Regions from separate parts of the Homo sapiens genome. Here all the other regions are linked to region 3. The links are contacts of gene promoters, found by promoter capture Hi-C in blood cells and fetal thymus (Javierre and others, 2016). All regions are on one chromosome and are shown on one strand. Each heading gives the region's core, a stretch centred on a gene start or on the middle of the fragment in contact. The rest is flanking DNA. Distances are from core to core; before and after follow the strand shown.

Region 1 (3,823 bases), core at 656-3,155, 870 kb after region 3:
TATGTACATCCTAGCAGAGAAAGCAAGTCATCATTAAGTGGGCAACTCAAGTTAGCCCCCAGTATCACATTAAGGAAATTCAATGCCCAAAGACAGTATCTACAAGATTCCAGTAAAAGAAAAGGTGACTCGAGATTTTTATACCTAGACGAATTATCTATTAAATGAGAAAGGAACAGATACTCTGAAGTGTTAGGTTCTGAATGCTTCTGTTCCCTCTACAATTCAAGTTCAAACTTAATTATCAACGAAAGCATCTTGAGCGGGGGGCCTTCAGGAGGTGATTAAGTCATGATGTTTACAAGCACACCTAAACCCCTGTGAAAGGTATTCGGTGCGCTTATAACAGGGCTTAAGAAGGGAAGTTCATTCCTCTTGCCCTTCTGCCTTCTGTCATGGGAGGACACAGCATTTCTCTTCTCCAGAGGATGCAGTGTCACCAGATGGAATGCAGCCCTCGCCAGAAAACTGAATCTGTCCGCTCCTTGATCTCAGGCTTCCCAGCCCCCAGAATGGTAAGAAATAAAGTTCTATTATTTATAAATTACCCAGTCTCAAGTATTTTGTGAAACCAGCACAAAATGGACTAAGGCATCTAGTATGCAGGAACAAAGGATATGTAACATAAACCATATTTGAAATAAACAAAAATAAAATTCTTGGCAATTAAATCTAGCCAAATAAGCAACAAATCAAAAAGCTATCAAAACTATTTTGAAAATTACAGTTTAAAATACAGTTATATATGTATAAAACATACATAGAATGTAGATACATATGCACGTATATATGTGTATATACATATAAAACTTCTCAATATTGTCAATAATTGTTATTTTTACTTTACAGTAATATTTTAGGAAGTAATAGCTTAATATTCTTGGACTCACATAGTAAAAGTTCAGAAATTACTTCATCTGATTTTCCTTTCTTAGATTCAAATTTACATTTAAAAATATTATGCTTCTTCATTTGTCAATATAGTTACCTGCTTCTTGACCTACCTTTCTGTCTATCTTAGGAACGTATCTTTTTTTTTTTTTTTTTTTGAGACAGAGTCTTGCTCTGTCACCAGGTTAGAGTGCAGTGGCGCAATCTCGGCTCACTACAACCTCAGCCTCCCAGGTTCAAGTGATTCTCCTACCTCAGCCTCCTGACTAGCTGGATTACAGGTGCCCACCACCACGCCCAGCTAATTTTTGTGTTTTTAGTAGAGACGGGGTTTTACCAAGTTGGCCAGGATGGTCCCGATATCTTGACCTCGTGATCCACCCATCTCGGCCTCCCAAAGTGCTGGGATTACAGGCGTGAGCCACTGCGCCCGGCCAAGAACGTATCTTGAATGATGGTCACCAAAACATACTTCTGATTATTTCAAGGTGGTGGGAATTTGACTGAAATGTTTTTAGCTTTCTGAATGTTTCAGTTGGTTGAAAACAATGAATATAAATTACTTTTATGAGAGCAATACCATCTTTTTTCTCATATTGAATTAGTTGCCAAAAAAATGGCCCGGCTGCCTTCTGCCCACCACCCTCCTACTCTACCTCCCCTCCCAAAATTTGTAGTATTTAATGTACCTAAAAAAATGGACCTCTTTATTTACTATCTGTAGGCATTGGATGAAGCGAGCCAGTAGGTTCAAGGAACAAAACAAAATCCACCATGCAGAAGGGCGTTGCATATGGTTTGACTGTTTTATAAACAAGATGACAGATTCTGATGACTAAACTTGTTTTCTCATTATCAAAAGCAACACTCTGAACTCCAGAACATTTGCTTTAACAACTTACCTGAAGTTAATGAGGGAAGAGTTTCAAGGAACTAATTAATGTGCATTCCTCACAACACAGGCTGCCAGTTGGTGGTTTTTGCCAAGATGCCTACCACAAGGGAACAGGATGTGGCCTCCCATCTTACCTATAGTGACAGGAGTCATTGACTTCAGAGTGGACTCACCTGGGCGGAAAGAGTGACGATGTTCCGCCTGGCTGCATCTTTTGTTATAATTTCACAGAGGAGATAACTTGATTGGAGGCAAATGGACACAAATCCTCCCAAAGCACCCAATTCAACTTTTATATCAAACTTAAAAAACATGCTACCTTTTCTGAGATAAATACGTGTTTCTGGCAAATTCACGACCACAGTGAAGGCCAATTAAAGTTCAAACAGAAGCTGGCAGAAATTTCATTTCCCTCAGAAACAGCAGAAGGCTGTTCAATCATGGATTGCCGCTACCAATATGCAAGTATTACTGATCACGCGAGGTAACAACGGCTGGAATTTCAAAATCTGTGTCTCTAAAAATATACAAAATGTCCAACTCGGGCCACTGTTTTTGGCGCAAGTTCTGGGAAACTCTTAGGGAGAACATTTCGTATTTTTCACTCCGGATCCATAGTGTGAAGCAGGCCCTGAAATCTCCAGTGATGACATGAGTAAACAGTAACAGTAAAGTGATAAAATAAGAAAATTTTTAAAACAGCATTCAAGATACCACTAGCCAAACGGCATCGTGCTAATGACTTCTACTTTTAGATGACAAGTCGTGCTATTTAGACAACCAAATTTCATTGCAGACAGCCTTCAGGAACAGGTACCAAGGCAACCATACCGCTGCCAGGCTGTGGGTAGCCGTGGGGGGCTAGAGGAGGGAGAACACACGGATGAAGATCCGAAACACCACCACAAACTTAAAAAAATTATCTACAGAAAAACTAAAAACTGGACTTCATTCAACACCCATCTGGCATCTCGGAGAGAGAAAGAAATCACTTAGGGCTCCCTGTCTTCAACAAATTGTATCTTTCAAAACTGCCAGTAAGGCAGATTCCAACCCTCTGAATGAGACTATTTGCAAGAGATTTGGGTGGTTGACATTTTAGTGTTATTTCTGGACATGACATCTTTGGTTGATTACTTGGGTATAAAATAATGAGCGAGTGGCCCCTGTCATTTACTCCTGTTACAACAGCGAAAAGCATGCCATTGCTGCTGTCAAAATACGTCATAAAAGACTCATATTTCAAAATAGTTTGGTGTCAAAAGCTATTAATCATAATATCAATATATAGAATGAGGGAGGAGAGCAAAATAAACTTCATTTCTCCCCAATATGAAGAATAAAAATCAGTCACATATACACCTACACCCTTCATCATACCCAGACCCAAATCCCAGTGGAATCAGGATCAGGAAGTGAGGCAGAACCCTGCAGACCAGCCAGCTCATCCAGAAGATGACACATAGGCCCATCATGAAGCAGGGGAAAGAAACCACTTTCACAAACGCAACGGAACTATGAGGTTCATAGGTGTGTTACTATGTGTGGGAGGCGGGGTGATGGCTCCCCAAATATATTTCTGTCCCAATCCCTGGAACCTGCGCATATCAGCTCATGAGGCAAAAGGGACTTTGTCGAAGTGGATAAGTGAAGGATCTTGAGTTGGGGAGGTTATCTGGGTGGGCCTGATATAATTGCAGTGGTGCTTATAAGAGGGATGGGAGAAGAATCAGAGTGAGAGGAGAATGCAATGTGATGACGGTAGCAGAGAATGATGTGGTAGGTTCTGAGGATGAAGGAAGGGGCTGTAAGCCAAGGAATGCAGGCACTCACTAGAAGCTGAGAAAGGCAAGGAGCCATTCTCCTCTAGAGCCTCCTGAAGGAAGTGACTTGGGTGACATGTGGAGTCTAATTCAGTGAAAAAGATCTCAGACTTCCGCCCTCCAGAAGCATAAGAGAATAAATCGGTGCTGTTTTCAGCCACTGTTTGTGCTCATTGTTTATAGCAGCAATAGGAAACTAAGGCACTATGCAAAC
Region 2 (4,115 bases), core at 509-3,008, 580 kb after region 3:
GTCATCTGTGTCCTCCACTGAATTCACTTACATAATCAGCCTTTTTTTTTTTCCTGTTCCCTACTTATTAAACGGGTGGGATGTGCTCACTTGTGTATGGTAAACACTGAGTTCTTTCTTCACAGAAACTGTTAAAAGAGTAATTATTAGTTCTTTTTACTAAATCCAGAGTAATAGCAACTTATCTTGCAGTGGCTTAATTGGGTAATTATTTGGTGTGTGAAGAGCACTTTGAAGAGAATATTGGTAAATATTGTTAATTTCGTGCTCTTTTATGTAACTGAAAGCCCATTGCGACCACAAAATCCTTGGTGTTACTGTGTACCCACAAAATTTCTTTCCTGATGTGGCTTACTATTTTCCAAATTATTTGTTTGTTGATTTTTAAAAACATTTTTTAAATTTTCATAAATTCTCAAAGTTATCTCATGTTTATGCCTTGACAATTCGACATGTCTCATCTCCTACATTCTTGCATATCTGAAAGGTTAGATGTTATCAGTCTTGCTCTCTAACAGTTTGGAGGACAGATAAAGCCCGACCATGTAATTGAGAAATTGAAATAAAGATTTATTTGGTCAGAGCCCATGCCCTGAGCTGTCATCTGATTGCCATCAGAATTTGTTTAAAAGTGTTAGGTTGGCCATGCACGGTGGCTCATGCTGTAATCCCGGCACTTTGGGAGGCCAAGGCGGGAGGATTGCTTGAGCTCAGGAGTTCAAGACCAGCCTGGGCAACAGTGAGACTCCCATCTCTATTAAATAAGTAAATAAGAATTAGGTTGACTTGCATGTGCCTGGCCAGCTCTTTTGACAGATTTTCTTCTCACTTTATAAATTCAGAGCCTGCAGGCCAGGCGTGGTGTCTCATGCCTGTAATCCTAGCACTTTGGGAGACCAAGGCAGGCGGACCACTTGAGGTCAAGAGTTCGATACCAGCCTGGCCAACATGGCGAAACCCCATCTCTACTAAAAATACAAAAATTAGCCAGGCATACGTCTGTAAGTCCAGCTACTCAGGAGGTTGAGGCAGGAGAATCGCCTGAACCCGGGAGGCGAAGGTTGCAGTGAGCCAAGATTGTGCCACTGCATACCAGCCTGGGTGACAGAGTGATACTCTGTCTCAAAAACAATAAAAATAAGATGAAATAAAATGTAGAGCCCCCAGGTGTAATTAAGGGCCATTTCTGTAGCTTAGATTAGATGACCTTGATTACTCACTATGTTTGTCTTCCTAGGGCTGCCATCACAAAATACCACAAACTGGGTGGCTTTAACAACAGACATTTATTTTCTCACAGCTCTGGCAGCTGGAAGTCCCAGATCAAGGTGTCAGCAGTGTTGGCCTCTTCTGAGGTCTCTCTCTTTGGCTTGTGGATGGCCGTCTTCCCTTTTATGCATGTCTGGGTATTGATCTTTTATAGGGACACCAGTCCTATTGGATTGAGACCTACCCTAACAACCCCCTTTTAACTTAATTACTTCTGTAAAGACTATCTGCAAATACAACCACATCCTAAGGTGCTGAGGGTTCGGGCTGCAACAGACAAATTTTGCAGGGAGATACAACTGAGCCCAAAATGCTCCACTGCAATAGTAATGGTCTGTTTGGAAGCTACTGTTTTTGGAGTTATTTTCTTTGATTGTTAAATTTGACCTTCCAAGTGATGACTACACATCTTTGGAGAATCTCCTCAGTTCAGGAACTTCTTTTTAACTAACATTACTTGGAGGAGAGCTTAATGCTCGTGACTTTAAACATTTATGTAATTAGGTAAAAAGGGAAGCAACATTATTAAATGACTTGGATAGAGTTCATCAAGCAGTTAAGAAAAAAATGTACATAATCAAGCGTACCTTGCAGTCTGAATGACAAACATCCAAATATTTGCTGTAACAACTCGCACATATTTTTACCAAAAATTTCCTCTCCGAATCAGAAACTTACTATGATGAGTCCATGTACTTACGTGTACCATCAAAAAGGGCCAGAGGATCGCTAGAGTATGCTGTGGTCCTATCTGCTCTTTCTATAAAGTGGTATCTTGTGCTCATCTTGCTTAAATATGTTGTGTCTTACAATTATCACGATACTATCAACTGAAAACAGAAAGGTCTGTGAGAAAAGATGTGAGCCTAGGAAGCTAAAAACTTTTTCTTTTTTTTTTTTTTTTGAGATGGAGTCTCGCTCTGTTGCCATGCTGGAGTGCATTGGCGCGATCTCGGCTGACTGCAACCTCTGCCTCCCGAATTCAAGCGATTCTCCTGCCTCAGCCTCCCGAGTAGCTGGAACTATAGGCACGTGCCACCATGCCCAGCTAACTTTTATATTTTTAGTATATTTTCAGCATGTTGGCCGGGATGGTCTCAATCTCTTGACTCGTGATCTACCCGCCTCGGCCTCCCAAAGTGCTGGGATTACAGGCATGAACCACCGCACCCGGCCTCTTTTCTTTTTTTTGAGACGGTGTCTTGCTCTGTCACCCAGGCCGGAGTGTGGTGGTGATCATAGCTCACTTGAGCTTCTGGGCTAAAGCGATCCTCCTGAGTAGCTGGATTACAGGTGCTCAATACCTCAATACCACGCCTGGTTTTTTTTTTTTGGACAGAGGACCTACAGGGAACTTTATTCTCGTGCTTTTGTCTTCACTGGGGCACTACCCCTCGGGAAGACCAGGTTGGCTCCTGGCACAGGGATGCACCTGGTTAATTTAAAAACATTTTTTTTTAGAGATGGGGTCTCACTCTGTTGCCCAGGTTCGTCTCCAACTCCAAGGCTCAAGTGATCCTCCCACCTCGGCCTCCCAAAATGCTAGGATCACAGGCATGAGCCACCACAACCAGCTAGCAAAGCTCTTATATTCAAAGAAATATTGGGGAATGTGAAGGCACAGAAGGCCTCAGTTTGACATTATCTGTCCATATCTATAATGCATACTATCTTTGCTTCTGACGAGCTTTTACAATGTTCCCTCAGAATAGAATAATAGGGTTTTTTTTAATCCTTAAAAGAATCTTACGTAGTAAATTGGTAGTCAGAAATATTAGAGGGTTGTTACATGGGTATGTAAGAGTATATAAGTAAAACTTGGGGTTTTGAATGGGCTGTAAAACACTTTTCTCTTTAAAACTGTTTTAAGTGGAAATGTATTATTGAAGCTGTGTGATGGATGAGTAGGGGTTCACTACACTGCACTCTCTACATTAGCGAATTTTTGAGAATGTCCATATTAAAAAGTTTAAATAAAAGTTATTTTTTAAAAAGGAGAATAAATGAGTGAAATATATGGCCTCCTGTGAGGCAAAATTCGATACCTATATAAGGGACACATTAAATGAGGTATGCATGCCTATGTTAGACAATATTAAGTCGAGTATGGTTTTAACTACCAATCGCTCTGTAGAAAAGTGTTGTTGAGGCTGAGCGTGGTGGCTCCTGCCTGTAATCACAGCTACTCAGGAGGCTGAGGCAGGAGAATGGCTTGAACCTGGGAGGCGAAGGTTGCAGTGAGCCTAGATCGTGCCACTGCACTCTAGCCTGGGCGACAGAGTGAGTGAGATTCCATCTCAAAAACAAAAAAGAAAATTATTATTGAAACCCTTATCCAAGAGTAGCTGGAAGAGTATCTTTCCTAGTTTTGGCCTAGATTATTTGAGACATTTTTTATTTATGCTTCTCTGGCATATGACATGTCTATTACTTCCATGAGTCAGTGCCTTTCTCCCAGTTAGCATTTCCCAGGCTCTCAGGCTGCAGTGTCTCCAAGCTCAGTCTTTGATTTCAGAGCCTATTAGCCATGGCACAAATCCGGTGAACACAGAAACTTACAAAGAGGCCACTTGTCTCCGATGCACTGATGCACCATGCGTGGCTAGTGCCTTCTGCCCAATGTCTTCTCTGAAAACATTCCCTGCTGTTGTAGGAAGGATCCTACAGGCTGACACCAAGGAAGCCATGCTGTCTCCTGGGTGGTCTTCAGAGGACACTGCCTCCTGAGGGGCTGACATGGCCAAAGCCCATCCAAGTCCTCTCAGCCTCCATATCTAGGATGAGAAGTTGTCCTGGGCCTGTGAGTCTCGCTCACATTTCTGCATAAGTGTCAGGCCTGGCATAGA
Region 3 (4,389 bases), core at 1,048-3,547:
AGCTACATATCCAAAATATAACTAACTGCACCCTGTAAACGAAAAAAAGAAAGAAATCCTTTATTTTGAAATGGTACTGATGGAACTAATCCTGTTAAAGAATTTCTGCATGATTAAAGGTGGCAGAGCGTTCTAATAAGTCATTATAAAGTTCTATTTAGAATAATGATTAGCCATCAAATAAACAACTTATTGTAATTGTCAGGAAAAAGCCAAAGAGTGAATTTGGCATAGTCTACAATTAAACACTTTTTAAAATAATATAAAAACAGCTACCATATACTGAGTGTTCACTATACGTCAGATAGTGTGCTAAGCACCTAAATTATTTACATGGCCTCTAATCCTCACAATAACTCTGTAAGGTCTATTATCTGTACTTTACAGAGAAGGAAACTGAGGCTTAAATAAGCTAAATCACATGAACCTGAACCAAGTACATCTATTCCAGACTGTGCTCTTAACCATTACTAGAACTGCCACCCTGAATCTTCCTTGTATTTGCATTACAGTATAAATATAAACAGGGCTGAATATTATCTTATTCTACTTTGTAAAATGTTTAATAAATGTTAACTGATTACAATGGAAGTAAATTTTTTCTTAGTCTTTCACAGTATTTTAGAGCTGCTTACTATTAGAATAAGTAAGTCAAAGTGGGAAGTGTTAAAATAAAATCTCCCTCTAAGAAGCCCAAGATTAGGTAACTGACATAATTGAATGTGAAAAAAAAGAGCCCAAGTCATTACATGTAGGGTTTGGGAACTCAAAGGAAGATAATGAAAACAGAGGTATATTAGGAATCGAGAGACCTGGAATCCACTCCCAGTTCTATCGATTTGTGCAACTTTGGCCCAGTCATTTACCTTTACAACTAATTTTTTTCGCCTGCAAAGCAACAGTGAGGGACTAAATATCCCAACTTAACAATACATCGTAATTGTAATTTTACCAGCTCTTAAAACAAACATGTGGGAGGGAGGGAGAGATTACGTAAATCCTGAATTTTTGTTACAAAATACACGTTTTGAAATAGGGGTTTATATTTACTATGCCAAAATTCCGCCCAATCTATTTCGGGAACAGGTGTTCCCTAAATAGATGTTTTAATAATAATAGTGTTTTACATACATAAATTATTGATCCTTCTGACTCAAGGTTATGTTTTAACCTCATCATCATCTTTCCTAAGTCACCTTTAGGAATGTGTCAGTTGTTTGCCTATCCAAACTTAAGAATTAGGGATAGTTACTAGTATAAAGCGCCCAGCCTGTTACAGTGCAAGAATTCAATAAATGCTTATTTTATTTCATTATTATTTGTACTAAGACTCTTCATGTAAGTAAAAGTCCTGTCTGGGTTACAAGCATACCGGCCGAGGAAGTACTATGATCCATATTCCTTTTTTAACCGTGACAGATAATAAACCATATAAAAAACGGGGATACTTTGGGCCAAGAGTACACTTTTTAGCAAATAACAGTGTTTATACACAGACTACCACGCCTAACCACATAATGACAATACAAACAAAAAACTGCTTTTTGGAATTAGCCACTTGGACTTTCCCTTGGACGTCCCTCCTTCTCACCAAAAATAGACCAACCACCACCAATAGACAGCTCTGTTAGGGGGTAAAGATGCGGAAGGCCACAGCACCCCTTGAGAAAGTGACACCGGGGCACGGGGCGCATCTTCCGTGTCACGCCCTGCAACCCAGCAAGGGGCCACCCTCTCCTCCTCCCCAGCCGAAGGGCAGCCCGGAGGATGGAAAGAGCGCTGCGGGTATTTAGTGGCAGCTGTAACCATTCTCCTACTCAAACTCTCCCCACCAAGGCAAGGCAGGGCGTGTCTAGAAAGTCCAGCTTCAGCGCTGAGCACGGCGACTGGGGCAGAGAGCGGGGCACGCGAGGGGCTGGAGCGAGAGGCGTCACAGGCGGACTCTCGCAGGGCAAAAGAAGCAGCGGCTGCAAGTGTGAGAGCCCCGCCAGGGTACCTTGCGTCCAGCGGCAGAAAATGGTGTCCGAGAGACCGGGGCTGCTCTTGGTGCCCCACACCAGCTCCATCAGCTCTTTAGTCAGTTCGGACATGATGAGGAACCGGCGGGCGGATCTTCGCTTTGCGGACTCCTGCCCCGGAACATGGGGAAGGGGCAACTCCGGAAACAGCAGCTGCGGGACGGCGGCGGCAAACGAATTGGAAGGTGAGGCAGGAAAGAAGAAGGGGCTGAGAGCCACTTGCAGAGACCAAGCCTGTCAAGCCAGGTTGGGGCAGCAGCGAGTTTTCCGTACCGGAAGTGCTGGTGCCACTTCCGACTCCTCTTTAACTCCCGCCCCTTAAGGCTGAGGGCCCGGAAGTCCCCTCCCCGGAAGTGAAATTGGAGGCGGAAACAGGCACGGAAAGCGGTGGAAGTAGCTTCTGACCTTTCTGAACTGTCTGGGACCCTTTGGTGGGGTGGTAGTTTTTGTATTGGGAAGGGGCGTCGGCGTGTTTCTAAACTCCAGGAATACCTTCTTCCTCTACGCACTGCTCTGGGCTAAGCTGGAGGCTCTGAGGCCCAGGCACTAGGAATTAGAACATATGCCCATTGCTTGTATTTTTCAATATTAATTTTGCAAAACTAGAACTATAAGGCAATAGTTGAGTCACAGTGCGGTAACATCCGTGCCTTTGTAGGGCGCTTCTCATAAGCTGGAGGCTGTCCGCCTCTGTACTTCAATAAATCAAAGTCAGACCAACTATTACCTAAAAACATGGCAAAGAATGTGGCATAATGTGCATTAGAAATGCTTCCACCAGCTGCAACGCAGAATTACAAGGTATTTGTAGGGAAACAAATTCAGAGCAACCTGTTTGTAAATGTTACAGCATTTTCATCTCCAGTTTTTGACACTGCAGAGTGTGTGGGCAACACCTGGACTAAAGTTTAGGTTTTACTCATTAACTAGCAGTTAAATTGAGTTCATGTGAAAACTTATGTTTGTGCTGCTTAAAAAAAGAGGGCTTGTATTGCCCGAGCTTTGAATTTAAAACGAAAGGGCAAAATCTGATTTAAAAAAAAATACATGCTTTTATTTTGGTTCTGTAAGGTTTCTGTACTCCTTGGAAACCATATTACTTTGGGATGCAGTAATGCAATAGTTAAGAGGCCAAGCTGTGGGTCATACTGGCCCATATTCCTACCTTTTGCACTTACTAGCAAGTTACCTACTATCTACCTAGGCTTTTTTCTTTCTAAAAGGGAGATTGCATACATTTCATATATTGTAAGGAATAAATGGAAAAAGTAACACATACAAAGGATTTGGTGTACTTCCTAGCACATGGAAGGCATTTATGCAACAGTGGGTATTTTTTTTACCTCAAGAAGCCATTTTGTGGGAATTTGATGCAACAGTAGTTCTGACTTTTTTACCCATAAATTCTAGCCAGTTGTATTTTAGTATAATACGTTATGTTCTCTAATTTCAAAAACATGCAGTTTCATTGTAGAATACCCTTGCATTTGGCTAATTAAAATTAACCCTTAATTTAAAATCTTTTAGATTGCAAATAAGGTTTTGTTAATTTATGCTTTATTACTAGCTATTTTTTCCTATTTATACGTTATTTCTAATTTTATTTTAATTAATTTAATTTTATTTCTTCAGTACCCTTTACTGTAATTACAGGGACTTGCCCAAAGTGCCTGTAGTAGAGCCATAGCATTCCTTTTGATCTTTATTCCCTTTAGAATATCCCTTGCCTTGTTTTTGCAAATCAAATCTTACCTATCCTTCATGTCAGAGTGTGCATGCCAAACTTTCTCCAGTCATTACAATTGAAAGTAATAATTATAATTTCTGAGGCTTCATAGTACCTTATGTGTAACTTGCTTATGACAATTCCTATCATCATTGTATTTGCAAAGAGTTATTTGCTTTTCTCTTGGGATATAAATTTATGGAAGCAAAGAGCTGCCTATTCATAATTCTAGCATGGGGCCTTGAACATCACTGGATCTCAATAATTACGATTCCAAGGAACAAAACTTGCCTTTACTGGAAATAAAGAATTCATTATCTCTCAGCAAGTGAGAGATCGGGGAAGTAGTACTGACTGCTCCAGTTAAATATCTAATATTCGCATGCTGATTACAATTTACGTAATTCTTCCACTTCCTGAAAGACACAGAAGGGTCTATGTACATAGAGCTCATAACTGGCAGACTTCTAAGTTCAGAAGTGTTTCCACATTTGACTTTCTCCATTAATGTATGTAAATATTAATGGTGTAGTGTATATAACACTACATTTGTTTCCTTTACATTAATATAGATAGTAGTTATAAGTTTGATTACTTTGTTATGAAAAAACAAAAAATTGTACTTTCAAACTGTATTTTTTTAAA

What was found. Contacts are between HindIII fragments. The CHiCAGO score rates a contact against its expected background, and 5 or more counts as called.
Region 1: a contact is called between a fragment that was not itself captured here and the fragment with the promoter of MINDY3 in region 3, in 7 of 17 cell types (M2 macrophages, M1 macrophages, activated CD4 T cells and 4 more). The highest score is 8.2, in M2 macrophages.
Region 2: a contact is called between a fragment that was not itself captured here and the fragment with the promoter of MINDY3 in region 3, in 1 of 17 cell types (M0 macrophages). The highest score is 6.6, in M0 macrophages.

What each region holds. Positions count from the first base shown.
Region 1 is chr10:16,725,238-16,729,060 of GRCh38, forward strand. The region is part of intron 7 of RSU1 (Ras suppressor protein 1); the gene reads right to left. LOC124902384 (a long non-coding RNA gene) reads right to left here. Exons shown (of 2, transcript XR_007062072.1): 2 at 1-3,823. Among named protein-coding and RNA genes, the nearest start is that of RSU1, 90 kb to the right of the region's middle. The HindIII fragment of the contact is 4,019 bases long and covers 1-3,823 here.
Region 2 is chr10:16,441,848-16,445,962 of GRCh38, forward strand. The region is part of intron 1 of PTER (phosphotriesterase related); the gene reads left to right. Among named protein-coding and RNA genes, the nearest start is that of PTER, 6.9 kb to the left of the region's middle. The HindIII fragment of the contact is 8,086 bases long and covers 1-4,115 here.
Region 3 is chr10:15,858,210-15,862,598 of GRCh38, forward strand. MINDY3 (MINDY lysine 48 deubiquitinase 3) reads right to left here and starts at 2,298. Exons shown (of 15, transcript NM_024948.4): 1 at 1,997-2,298. The coding sequence starts at 2,090. It overlaps LOC124902383 (a long non-coding RNA gene), which reads left to right. Exons shown (of 4, transcript XR_007062071.1): 4 at 1-591. RefSeq lists an enhancer at 2,040-2,089. The HindIII fragment of the contact is 10,196 bases long and covers 1-4,389 here.